2 separate regions of the Homo sapiens genome follow, and region 2 is linked to region 1. The links are contacts of gene promoters, found by promoter capture Hi-C in blood cells and fetal thymus (Javierre and others, 2016). All regions are on one chromosome and are shown on one strand. Each heading gives the region's core, a stretch centred on a gene start or on the middle of the fragment in contact. The rest is flanking DNA. Distances are from core to core; before and after follow the strand shown. Region 1 holds the start of MOB1B (MOB kinase activator 1B). Region 2 holds the start of RUFY3 (RUN and FYVE domain containing 3).

Region 1 (7,012 bases), core at 1,550-4,049:
TTCATCCATGTCCCTGCAAAGGACATGAACTAATTCTTTTTTATGGTTGCATAGTATTCCATGGTGTATATGTGCCACATTTTCTTTATCCAGTCTCTCGTTGATGGGCATTTGGGTTGGTTCCAAGTCTTCGCTACGGTAAATAGTGCTGCAATAAACAAACATGTGCATGTGTCTTTATTCAAATGAATATTTAAAGAGCATATGCCCACTCATGTTCTGTTCTATTCTGTACATGTTACAGTATAATTTCAATTCTTTGAAAAGTTGGATAGAACAAAAATTTTAATAATCTTGCTTCATAAACAAAAGGTTATTAGATTTTGGTCAGAAGAGATGATAATTATAAATATCTATTTGAATATAAACTCTCTTTGATTCTGAAATTCCCAATGTTTTTGATATGCTGAATAATTTTATATGACAGACATCATTTGATTTAAAGTCTAACCTGGAATCATATTGTATATTATTAACCTGACACCTCCCTCACATTTAGGACCAGTATATTTACGTTTTATTGGATGTTAATTCCAGGCAACTCTCCTAGTGGTATGATAAAGAAATACTCAGAAGGTATTTTTGCAGATTCTTTCCTCTGCCAGTTTTCCCTTATTCAGTGTCACAGGATACATCTAAATTATGTCAGACCAAAACTAAGGCTACCTAAGCCAAATCAGGGAGCAGTTTGGAAATGTGTGCCAGTCATTTGAAGGATGCCCCTGGCAGGAGAGAACTTTAGAACTGGAAGATATTTTAGAGATCATGTAATGATAGAAGGCTCCCATTTTAAATGGGCTAAAACTGAGGCTATGACAGGTCAACTCACTCTTTCCAAAGATAATCAGTAATCTGGTAATGCAAGTCTTACTTTCAGAAGACCCTTACAAGAATCATACAGGGCTGGGCGTGGTGGCTCACGCCTGTAATTCCAGCATATTGGGAGGCCAAGGCAGGCAGATCACGAGGTCAGGAGTTTGAGACCAGCCTGGCCAACATAGTAAAACCCCGTCTCTACTAAAAATTCAAAAATTAGCCAGGTGTGGTGGCACAGGCCTGTAATCCCAGCTACTTAGGAGGCTGAGGCAGAATTGTTTGAACCCAGGAGGCAGAAGTTGCAGTGAGCCTAGTCCAGAAGTTGCACCACTGGACTCCAGCCTGGGTGACAGAGTGAGACTCCGTCTCAAAAAAAAAAAAAAAAAAAAGAATTATACAGTAAGTCAGTACCATATCAATATTTGGAGCACAGGGTTTTATACCATAAATCTATTATTTTCATTCAGATAAATCCTCCTCTTTCTTCTTTTTGGGGAATCTTTTAAAAAATTTTTAATTTAATTTGAAGTTCCAGGATACATGTGCAGGACGTGCAGGTTTGTTACATAGGTAAACGTGTGTGCCATGGTGGTGTGCTGAACCTATCAACTTATCACCTAGGTATTAAGCTCTGCATGCATTAGCTATTTATCCTGATCTGGTAATCTTTTGAGTCTGTAAGTTTTCTCATTCCAGTAACCTCTGCTGTTCCTGAGATAGTGCAAGATTCTAGTATTTTCTTCTATTAAAAAATTTTTTTTTTGAGACGGAGTCTAACTCTGTCACCCAGGCTGGAGTGTAGTGGCATGATCTTGGCTCACTGCAACCTCTGCTTCCTGGGTTGGAGCAATTCTCCTGCCTCAGCCTCCCGAGTAGCTGGGATTACAAGTGTGTGCCACCATGCCCGGCTAATTTTTGTATTTTTAGTAGAGACGGGGTTTGGCCATGGTCTTGAACTTTGGCTGGTCTTGAACTCCTGACCTCAGGTGATCCACCCACCTCGGCCTCCCAGAGTGCTGGGATTACAGGCATGAGCCACTGCGCCCGGCCTAAAACGTTTTTTTTTTTTTTTTTTTTTTTTTTTTTTTTTTTTTTTACCACTTTACCAACGTGCCAAATAATAGTGCATATATGCAGTATAATACATTTCATATCTGCACCTACTTCAAAGTGTATTCTGCCCTTTGGGATAAGCCAAAGGTGAGCTAATATCTGCACATGATTTGTTTTGCTCAGATTCTCTTTGAAAACTTGTAGATTTGATGGGTGTTGTGAGTAAAGAAGACGGACATCTCTTCGATACCCGTATTTCCCTCCTAAATTGGTAATGCTGTGGTGACATATTCAAGGTATGTGAAGGATTCTTAAACAGAATATAAAGGCTTGCCCTGGGCCCCATAACCCTGTGAGAATAAAAGTCCCTTTGTAAGTGGGTCTGAATAGCTTCTAGCTTCTAGGATGTTCTGTGCATTAGAATGCTTACAAGCTTTGGCCCCCTAAGTGGTTACACCGATGACCACCCTATCATGCTGGGTTCCGTGGTGAACTGAGAGATGCCATTACCTTTCACCGCCCTTGGCCGGACACTCACGGTGGGCCTAACTCCGGTGGTAATTCCATCCCTCACTGCGGGACCTTGACATCCCCGAGCTGAAGCCCACTTCCTCCCTGACCTCTGGAGCCCAGCTGAGCGGCTCCGAGAGCTCTGCCATGACTCCTAACCGGGTGGACAGGGGGGCCGGGCAGCCGCGGCGCACACGCTGGGCGTCGTCCCTAGCAGCAGAGGAGACCAGAAGGTGAGAGTCCCCATGCCGCAGCCGGAGGGCCGGGGTGGGCTTGCACCGCTATCGCGAGAGCTCGTGAGGTGGGGGCGGCGGGGAGCTGGGGAGGGGCTCGCGGAGAGCCTGCCCCGCCTCCCTTTCCTTCCCCTCCCCTGGAGTGATTCAAGACGAGCGCTACCCACTTCCGCCCCCTCCCCCTGCCATTGGAACTAGCTGAGCCGAACTAGTTGCGGCCACCGAGCAGCCGGCTCTCGGCACCTCCTCCTCCGCCTCCCTGTCTCCTGTTCCATTCGCCTTTCCTCTTCTTTCCTGGCCCACGCCGCTCCGAGGCCTCGCGACCGCCGAGCCTGCAGCCTGCCCCGCGGCCAACATGAGCTTCTTGTTGTGAGTAGCCAGGCCCCGCACGCGCCGGCTTTGTTCGGGTGGACCTGGGCCCCCGCCCGCCGCCCGCCGCCCGTCGCCCGCCCTCGTCCCGACCCTCCTGGCCCAGCGCTCCCGGGGCCCGGCGTCACCACCAAGCGGGGCCCCGGGACTGCGCGGAGCGCTCGGACTACCTAACCGCCGCCTCCCCATAGGGCTTCGAGTACTCGTGGGCTCCTGCAGCCCTGAGGAGGTTCTTCCCCCCCGGCACACCCCGGGGCCAGCGCCTGGATTCCTTCATCACCCCCGTCTCTGCCTTCGCTCGCATTCCCGGGCTTGTTTGTGCGCTTCTCGTGGGTATCTCCCACTCGCCTGCACAATCCGTATCCAAGCGGTGCTCGGTTGAATGGCTCCGTCGCGGCTGCCCATTGCTCTTTTCTGGGTCCCAAGCACAGAAGATAAGACTGTCGTACTTTCCCCTGTCATCCCAGGACCCTTTTAACTTCCTCTCTCGTCTTAGGGCTGGGAAGTTGGGATGACAAGTTCTGTAGATGTAACACTGAAACAAGGCTACTTGCGGGTCGGGATCCCTTGGACACAGACGGGGGTCCCTGAGAAAGGGGTCTGGAGCCGCCCCCTTGCTTCCTAGAGGCGCCCTTCCTCCCAGAGGACTTCCCTGAAGAGGATGAGTTTTATCTTTTTAGACAACCAGCAAATAGGTTTTGGATAGTGTGCCCTGCCTAGGTTGATTAGGTCCACTGGGGAGTTGTTTTGAAAATCATTTGTAAATGCCAACTTTGGCGTCATGTTTAGTGCTGGTCATTATTTCACTTACTTATCGTTTGTTCCAGACGAGTGGAGGGGAACGTGGAGGGGGAAGGGCAGAAGGATGGGATGGCCAGATGTGGATATGGAGGCAGTAGATAAGCCTCAGGTCCTCTGAAAACAGGGGTTACAGCCTGAGGAATAACTCCTTTGAAGGCTTCGTTGTGATGCACTCATTCCATGTTTAGTCTGTGTTTAGAAAACTAATAAAAAACTTAGAAGTTGAAACTCACCCATATACTGTTTTACTGTTGTGGAGAAATTAGCATTTAAAGGATATTTTCTTAAGATTTCTCTTCTTTCCTTGCCTAATAATTTTTAGTCATTACATTGACGTCTGAATACTGAGAATTTAATTCACTCTTATTTTCACATGCTCACATCTAGAATTTTTTTTTTTAGGGTGTTTAAGCAAAACTGAACAAGGCTGACCTAGGGGCAGACTTGATATTTCCAATATGCATAGGGGACCTGGCTTGTGTCAACTTGCCTAAAACCTTTAAACGGAAAGGGATTTCTTAGGCTCCTCCTAGAAGTTGATTCTGAGTTTGTCGGATTGGCATAGGGCTAGATGACAGGACTGGGTGATTTTATAAAAAAGTCCTTGTTTCTTATTTTAGTTCTTTTTTTTTTTTTTTTTTTTTTTTGAGACGGAGTCTCCGCTCTGTCACCAGGCTGGAGTGTGTAGTGGCGTGATCTCGGCTCACTGCAACCTCTGCCTCCCGGGTTCAAGCGATTCTCCTGCCTCAGCCTCCTGAGTAGCTGGGACTACAGGCCCGCGCCACCACGCCTGGCTAATTTTTGTATTTTTAATAGAGATGGGGGTTTCACCATGTTGGCCAGGCTGGTCTCGAACTCCTGATTTCAAGTGATCTGCCTGCCTTGATCTCCCAAAGTGCTGGGATTACAGACGTGAGCCCACCGTGCCTGGGCAGTTTCTTGTTTTAGTTCTAATCACCATATTCAGGTATCTCAACTTGAAGCTTCTCATCTTGAGCTTAATTTTACATTGCTAATGTTTGATTGTTTTCAAGAATTTAGAAGCTGTATTCAAAATAGCACTGTAGATGATATCCATGACTACTGCTGATGGGCTTGTGTCTAGTAAGCTAAATTGGTTAAAGCAAGGCCAGTCGCGGTGGCTCATGCCTGTAATCCCAGCACTTTGGGAGGCCAAGACAGGCAGATCACCAGGTCAGGAGTTCGAGATCAGCCTGGCCAATATGGTGAAACCCCGTCTCTACTAAAAATACAAAAATTAGCTGGGCAAGGTGGCACGCACCTGTAGTCCCAGCTACTTGGGAGGCTGAGACGGGAGTATCACTTGAACCCGGGAGGTAGAGGTTGAAGTGAGACGAGATCGCGCCACTGCACTCCAGCCTGGGTGGCAGAGTGAGACTCTGTCTCAAAAAAAAAAAAAAAAAAGGTTAAAGCAGGGAAGAGCCATATTTGGCTGAAACTAGGGGATGGAGAAGTTTCTGATGCTATTTTTTGAATACAAATACAGTAGAATCCTATTTTTACATGGCTCAGTATTTAATAGATTCAGATTTGTGGTGGATTAGTTTGTTTCTCCTGAAGGTTAGTAACTACAAAAGAAATCTTGCTGTAACTAATGTATATAGAACTTTAGAGCATTTGCACTATTTGGGGCACAATTTTTCAGTTAGGTTATATCTATCTAGCAGTTGATATATTCTCAACATATTTAGCCCATGTGCTTGACAATCAGAAAAGTTAATTCAACATTTTCAGTTTTGGTCTTTGTCTACCGTCAATTAAAAATCCAAAGTGAACACCACATGGAAATGATTATTATTGGAAGTGAAAGAACAAAGCTTTGGTTATTTCTTCTATTTGTTATTTGGTATAACTGTCTGAATACTGTTTCTTTTTTTTTTTTTGGAGACAGGATCTCACTCTGTCGACCAGGATGGAGTGCAGTGGCATGACCACAGCTAACTGTAGCTTTGACTTCCCAGGCTCAGGTGATCCTTTCATCTCAAACCCCCTCCCCGCTACAAGTAGCTGGTACTACAGGTATGCTCCACTATGCCTAGCTAATTTTTTTTTTTTCGGTAGAGTCAGGGTTTTGCCATGTTGCCCAGGCTGGTCTCCTGGGCTCAAACAATCCACTCATCTTTGCCTTCCAAGATGCTGAGGTTACAGGTGTGAGCCATTACACCTGGCTATCTGAATACTATTTCTGTACCAACAGATGAGCAGAGAAGGAAAGCGTTACAGCTTAGGAGTTAAATACAAATATTTTCCTCCCGTTCTTGGAAGCTTACTGGGAAGCCTACGATCAGTGGATGGAGCAGAGGAAATAAGGGCAATGCAAGATGGGGCTGCAAAGGTGGTGACTCATGACTCTTGAGGGCTCTAAGATAGAAGGAAAGAACTACTACTGATTTTTAAAAGATGCACTGTGGGCCGGGCACAGTGGCTCCTGCTTGTAATTCCAACACTTTGGGAGGCTGAGGTGAGTGGATCACTTGACCCCAGAGTTCCACACCAACCTGGACAACATGGCGAAACTCTCTTTCTACCCCTAAAAATACAAAAATTAGCCAGGTGTGGTGGTGTGAGCCTGTAGTCCCAGCTACTCTGGGGGCTGAGGTGGAAGGGTCATCTGAGCCTGAGGAAATTAAATACTTCAAGGCTGTGGTGAGATGTAATCATGCCACTGCACTCTAGCCTGGCTGATAGAGAGTGAGACTCTGTCTTAAAAAAAAAAGGCCGGTCGCGGGGCATAATGGCTCAGGCCTGTAATCCCAGCACTTTGGGAGGCCGAGGTGGGTGGATCACTTGAAGTCAGGAGTTTGAGACCAGCCTGATCAAGAAATGAAACCCCATGTCTACTAAAAATAAAAAAAATTAGCCGGGCGTGGTGGCGGATGCCTATAATCCCAGTTACATGGGAGACTGAGTAGGAGAATCACTTGAATCCGGGAGACAGAGGTTGCAGTGGGCCAAGATTGTGCCACTGCACTCCAGCCTGGACGACAGAGTGAGACCGTCTCAAAAAAAGAAAAAAAATCACTGTGCCTGGCACTGATGTGGATGTTGGGCACCATTTGTGACAAGAGAGAAAAAAATCCCTGCATTGGTGGGGCTTATGTTCTGGTAAGTGTCCGTAAATACTGAACATCAATAAATCATGTAGTATGGCGGAAGGTTGTAAGTGCCATGGAACAAAGGAGAGCAGGGTATAGAGATTTTTGGATAGG
Region 2 (7,012 bases), core at 2,347-4,846, 180 kb before region 1:
CTCTTATTTGCTTTGAATCCATCATAATGTGGAAAATACAGACTGTTTAAGCAGCTAGAACGTAGTATTTTTTGGATCTTCATTTTGGATTTGAACTTCACACAGGCCTATTCTTTTAGGGCCACAGACTGAACTCCCACCCGCCTCACAACCATCTTACAAATAGGTGCCATTACTCACAAATGGGATCAAATGAGAAAATAGTTCAATACAGCTCATACAGTAATTACTCTGTATGTGAGAAAAAAAATCAAGGTTTGAATATCTTACTGATGGCTTAACTTTAACTTCATATTCAAAGCTAAGATGTTTACTTAGTAAAGACCAAAATGTAAAAACGGTACTAAGCAATATCTAAAATCTTTTTTTTTTTTCTTTGAGACGGAGTTTCACAGGCTGGAGTGCAGTGGTGCAATCTCACCTCACTGCAACCCCCGCCTCCCAGGTTCAAGCGATTCTCCTGCCTCAGCCTCCAGAGTAGCAGATTACAGGCATGTGCCACCACGCCCAGCTAATTTTGTATTTTTAGTAAAGATGGCGTTTCTCCATGTTGGTCAGGCTGGTCTTGAACTCCCGACTTCAGGTGACCCGCCTGCCTCAGCCTCCCACAGTACTGGGATGACAGGCATGAGCCACCGTGCCCGGCCGTAGAATTGTTTTTATAAGTTTCTACAAATAGCACTGTTTTCATAGTAACTTCTTTGCCTGTGAACAATGGATAACTGTTCGTGCTGAAGACTCAATGGTGTTTACCTAAAGAACAGCGTAGAAGTACAGTTTTTCTTGCCCACCCCCGGGTCTTATTTCTGAAATGGCTGCCAACACCTCAAACTGGTAGATCTGGGAAATTCAAGGATACCAATACAGGCATGTTTTTCTTTCCTTGCCAAAAACTTTAGTTGTTTTGGGCTTGCCTCTCTGTGTCCTCTACCTGGAGAGAGGCAGGGTGGGATGGATCTTCCGAAGGAATGTTAATCAAGTTTCTTGCTCACTAACCTTGATGTTCCTGTTGTGTTGGTATGTTGCAATCAATCTAGATCTGTTCAAGTTAGTAAATGCTTACTGGGGTGAAGAGATTGTTGTGGTTTGTGACAAGGCCAAATTCAGGTTTTGGACCCCAGACAATCACATGGCATTCGGATTTATTCATGTATTCCTTGTTCTGTTTTAAGAACATATCAGTGATCTAGAGTTTTGATATCACACATACAGATAGCTAGGGCTGTTTGGAGTTGTGGTTCCAGGAATGTCCCATGTAATTTGAAGGTTTTAATGACTACTTACTATGTTTTGAAGTATTGCATGATATAAAGTGAATCTATAAACTGTCCCCTTATTAATATATAATATGGGAATATTTTTGGCTAGAAAGGAATTGAACTGAATTAAATGAGAATGTGTTAAATGAAGGCTTGTGTTCAGTATTTGGATATGAAAATTCTGTTTCCTGGAAAAGGTGTTTCTGTCTTACTGCTGCGTGCCTAGTGCCTGGATCACTACCTGGCATGTGGAGCACCTCTTAGTGAATATCTGTTGAATGAATGAATGAATGAATGGCTCTGAGTCTAGATGTAGGGTAATGATGAGAGAGAATGAGATAGAAATAAAACCAGGAGTATTTTGCTTTCCTTAGTAACTTACTGATTTTCCCCAATTATAAATAAGCCTATATATATGCCTTCTTACATTGTACCAGTATACCCTCCTTCTTTTTTTTATTTTGAGACAGGGTAGAGTGCAGTGGTATGATCTCGGCTCACTGCAGCCTCTGCCTCCTGGCCTCACGTGATTCTTCCACCTCAGTCTCCCAAGTAGCTAGGACCACATGTGCGCGCAACCATACCTTGCTAATTTTTGTTTTTGTAGAGATGGAGTTTTGCCATGTTGCCCAGGCTGGTTTCAAACTCCTGAGCTCAAGCCATTCACCTGCCTCAGCCTCCCAAAGTGCTGGGATTACAGGCACATGCCACCACATCTGACTAATTTTTGTATTTTTAGTAGAGATGAGGTTTCACCATGTTGGCCAGGCTGGTCTCGAACTCCTGACCTCAGGTGATTTGCCCGCCTTGGCCTCCCAAAGTGCTGGTATTATAGGCATGAGCCACCGCGCCCAGCCATCCGCCCTGTCTTCGTAACAATATGAAAATGCCAGTTTCTCTACAGAATTTGATTATTAGCATTTTTTTCTTTCAGTTCAGTCTCAAATTATGATGAAGCATTTGAGATTTTAACAATATTCAAGGAGAATTTTTTTAGTTTTCAGAAATTAGGTAAATCAAGATGTCCCTCTGATAACAATCCCTAGAAAGGAATAGTCTCAGGTCATATTTCTTGAATTTGTATGTTCCTCCTTAAAATTGGAACCCTTCAATACAAAAACAAACAAACACTTTCTTTCAATTGTCCAAAACATTTTCAAAGAAAATTCTTATTCTTCTCTTTGTAATTTATGTAGTTCATAAAGCAAGTACCTGCCCTTTTGCTACCAAGGTATAAATGCCTCATTGGATAATATAGGGCCGTGTGTGTGTGTGTGTGTGTGTGTGTGTGTGTGTGTGTGTGTGTGTATTAAGAAAATATAATTGTCTTCAGTATCTTATCGAATGGGAGGATTTTAAAAATATAACATGGTTTAATCTGCTTAGAAACATATTTCATGCTTAAGGCTGGGCATGGTGGCTCACGCCTGTAATCCCAGCACTTTGGGAGGCTGAGGTGGGAGGATCATGAGGTCAGAAGTTCAAGACCAGCCTGGCCAAGATGGTGAAACCCCGTCTCTACTAAAAATACAAAAATTAGCTGGGCGTGGTGGTGGGTGCCTGTAATCCCAGCTACTCGGGAGGCTGAGGCAGAGAATTGCTTGGACCTGGGAGCTGAGATCACGCCACTGCACTCCAGCCTGGGCTACAGAGCAAGACTCTGTCTCAAAAAAGAAAAAAGAAAAAAAAAGAAACGTATTTTATGCTTAATACAGAAACTTGATAAATACAACAAAATCAAAAAGGGGGGAAATTGCCATTAATTGGGAAAGATTTTACTTTTTTAACTTGAAGTTTTTTTTTTGCATTTCTGCCTAACCTAAAAGGTCAGGTTTTTGTACCTTGGAGAAGGAAATTATAAATGCCCAAGAATAAGATATTTAAATTGAAAATCTACTTTAGCTTTTCTTTTTATCTTTTTGTTTTTTTTCCCTCTGAGAACCTCAATTTTTTATGCTTTAGCTTTTCTTAAAACATAACATTTAGCATAGTAAAGAATTTTAATAGCTATGTAGATAAGAATGAAAGAGGTGAATTATATGCTTGTTAAATTAATCTAACTGCCTCTTTTACCATCTTTACTATAGATTATTATCCGGTATTAATTGTCATCCTTTTATTCAGTCCTTGATCCCAAAGTAAGAAGAATTGATGAGGATATGTGCATTGTGTTATGTCTGATCACAGTTTGACTAGCACAGTCTGGAAGTGGGTTGTACAGGATGAGAGAGAGAAGCCTAATTGCTCTCCCAGCATCAGCAGCATCTATAAAGCATCCTGGGAATTGCTTGCCCTACGTTCAGAGCAGCTGGTCACATGAGCCTGAATTTTCAGTTCAGTTCATTAGTCAGCCATTTTGGTCAACACCCTGCTTACTGCGCACGGCCAATCCTATGAGAACTCAGCATCCCAGCTCATCTGAGCAGATCCTGGAAGTGATTTCTGCAGCTCAGGATTTTTTTTTTAAGCTACATTGAAAATATAGGTTTATTTTTTGTTCAGGTTTTTCTTTTATATTTTTTTTCTGCACAAAGGAGGAGGATTTTTCACTTACTCATATCGAGGCCAGATTTTTAAAGCCAGCTAAGGCAGCATCAGCTGTGCGGGATTTAAAGCCTATAGCTCAGCTGAAAAAAAAGGTGGGGGGCAGGGAAGGGAAGATAAAAGGAGAGGAAGCTGGGAGAAGACAAGCATCATCTTATTTTGCTATGTGGTAGGAACTGTCTATAAGATAGTGTAGAATTGTTTATCTTGAGCAGTTTGTTCTTAACCTATAAGGTATTTTTCCTTTTTTTTTTTTTTAAACCTCCCCCACCCTTTTCCTGAAAGCTTTGTTTCAGAGCTTTGTATTGGGTTTTTTTGGTGAGGAGGTTGTATTTATTTTTTTGGTGTGTGTGTGTGAGTGTGTGTGTGTCTGTGTGTGTGTTGTGGTCCCAGCTGAGTCATCATGTCTGCTCTGACGCCTCCGACCGATATGCCAACCCCCACCACTGACAAGATCACACAGGCTGCCATGGAGACCATCTACCTTTGCAAATTCCGAGTGTCCATGGATGGAGAATGGCTCTGCCTGCGAGAGCTGGATGACATCTCACTTACACCTGACCCAGAGCCTACCCATGAAGGTATGGTCAGATCCTGTCCGCTAGTATTTCACCAGCATCCTCATTGTTATGGGGGAGGGCTGGGAGGATCAGGGAGAGGTAGAAAGAACCTACACTCTCAACTGTTAACAGTCCTGAAAACCTTGCATCCTTACTTACCACCCAGCTCCCCTTCTCTTGCTCATGGGGGAAAGATAATTTTTTTTCTTGCCCCTTTAGGTATCCTTTCAAAAGATGCTGGATACTCGTTTAGAGTTCTTTGTCTTTAAGCCTCTAAATAAAACATTTGAGGTCACTTATCACATCTGATTCTATTCAATAATGAGAAAGCTATTAATTTTGTTCATATATGAAAATGTTATAGAAATTGTAGTGATTTATAACACTAAGTTAAGACAACATGACTATAATTATAGGATTGTACATGATGAATACAGTAGAAACACCAGGGTATTTGGTAATGGTATCCTCACCATTATATGAGGATACAATTTTAAGCAAGTTATGACATCTAGGAAATGTTTGATAAAACATTTTTTTAACAATATGGATTATTAGGTTAGATGAGAAAATAACTTTTCAGCATTTATTTATTGAATATGGACTCCTAAGAAAGCATAATGCCTGGAAAGGTTAAATATGATTAATATGGCATCCCTATAGATTACAATAGAATGGTAATATTGGAATCTATTGGCCATTGCTTTTTATAAATTATTTGTGGTAACTATTATGATCCATTTGAGATTTCCACTGTCAGTACCTCTGAGATCTTTGTGGTCTCTTGACTTGCGACTTTTTTCCAGGACTCTTGCTAATTTATGAGAGGTTTTCTGCTTCTACCCTTTAATTCTCTTAATACCACAGAAAGAGAGCTGATTTGAATCATAGCTACAAATCGTTTTGTTTTTAATACAGTTGCTTCTTAGCTAAGGTTTATTCTCTGTCCTTATACTGATGAAAAAAAACAAAAAACGCTTGCATATGAGGAGAAATTCTTTATAAACATCTGCCTGATAGTTAGGCACATCGACAGGACAAAGAAGACCATAGGTGAATTGTACCTAGCAGATGGGGTTAGGAAAGGTGATTCTCTGCCTTTGACCTTGAGTTGAAATCTTATCATGACTCAGAATTTTCCCATTGTGTTTGATAAGCATTTTATCTTCCCAGTCAGCCTTAGCCTTGAGAAAGTTTTAGGGATGGTTAATAACACAGAACACAAAGCAGTCATTTTGGGTGTGTCTTTAAGAACAATGTTTAAGTGGTTTTTAAGACCCTTTGCATCTTTTAACAATTGGTTTGTTAATTAGACAGCTTTCTTTGGCTGTATGTTTCGTTATGTGCACAAGTTATAAGACATCAGCTGAAATTCCATGCAATGCCAGTACTATTTATTTTTTATTATTATTTTATTCTATATTTTCATCAAAACATCGTTACATCCAACAATTCCAGTACTACTTAAAACAGCCTCCAAAGCTTTAAAAGTCTTTAGGGAAGAAAAATACAGTTTTAGAAGGCTACCAAGAAGTCTTCTGGCAACTGCCTCAGTTTACATATTTTGTTTGAAAAAAATGTATTCCCGTCCAATTTGAGAGTTATACAATATGAAATATTCCCTTTATCATGAAATCTAGTTTACCAGTGTCTCAAAAATAATTTTTAACAATTTTAACACCTCAAATATATGTTTTTGGAGCAGGATTCCTATGGATAAGCAAAAGTGAGCTGTTTGGTTCATGTAAGCGTTTTTAGCAGCGCCATTTGAATTCTTCATAGAGAAATCTGTAGCAACACATTTCTCAGTATGGAAAATGTGTGAGAGCTATAATCTAAGTAATAAATTGTATGTCTGCTGATTAAAGAAATCAGATAAATACAGAGTTTCCAAGACCTGTAATCAACTATAGAGGATTTGGAAGAAAATAGAGAAATGCCGACAGTGCATTTTAGAATTTTGCCTTAAATTGGGCAAGAAAGCTATTATTTTAAATTACTAGAAATGAAAATAAAGAAAGCATAGTCCCATGAAAGCCTGTGAGTATTACTGCCTTGCTCCATTACCAAACTCTGGATATTTAAACAGTCATTTGGTCCCAAGAAATACCCACTTTTATGTTAATACCACTGATAGTTATTAGATTTAATTTAGCTATAAGCATTTAAGTGGTGGTCACCAGGCCCATGATTATGTGAATCTCACCTTGTTCACAAAATGGAACTCCTGATGTCTGGACGCGGGAGTATTCAGACTGCTTTCCGGGCTGATTCACAGAGGGAAAAACATCTGACCACCCAAATCCTAGAGTGAAGTCTCCTCACTCCCACAAAAGAAAATAGGCAAACAGCATAATGTTCCCTCTTAAAATGATGTAGACTGACTGTGTGTACTCAGCAATAGAGGCTCTGTGGCTTCCATATTTTATTTTCTTAAAACCAGAGTTCCTGGCCCTTCACTGAGCAGTCCGCAGTATAGGCCTGGACCTAGAGTTTCTGCCTACTTTAACCCTTAAATAAATGAAAATAAAAGCATTCACTTCATTATCTCAATGCTTATTGGTGGTCAATGAGGGATTATCTCTCTTTTGTCTTATATACTCTTTTTTTTTTTTTTGAGACAGAGTTTTGTTCTTATTGCCCAGGCTG

Evidence for each region. Contacts are between HindIII fragments. The CHiCAGO score rates a contact against its expected background, and 5 or more counts as called.
Region 2: a contact is called between the fragment with the promoter of RUFY3 here and the fragment with the promoter of MOB1B in region 1, in 1 of 17 cell types (fetal thymus). The highest score is 5.7, in fetal thymus.

Annotation. Positions count from the first base shown.
Region 1 is chr4:70,899,570-70,906,581 of GRCh38, forward strand. It overlaps MOB1B (MOB kinase activator 1B), which reads left to right and starts at 2,800. Exons shown (of 6, transcript NM_173468.4): 1 at 2,800-2,981. The coding sequence starts at 2,968. LOC124900711 (a long non-coding RNA gene) reads right to left here and starts at 2,662. Exons shown (of 2, transcript XR_007058132.1): 1 at 2,380-2,662; 2 at 1-148. RefSeq lists silencers at 2,620-2,769, 3,080-3,129. The HindIII fragment of the contact is 2,463 bases long and covers 2,301-4,763 here.
Region 2 is chr4:70,718,368-70,725,379 of GRCh38, forward strand. It overlaps RUFY3 (RUN and FYVE domain containing 3), which reads left to right and starts at 3,597. Exons shown (of 18, transcript NM_001037442.4): 1 at 3,597-4,384. The coding sequence starts at 4,207. The HindIII fragment of the contact is 24,519 bases long and covers 1-4,086 here.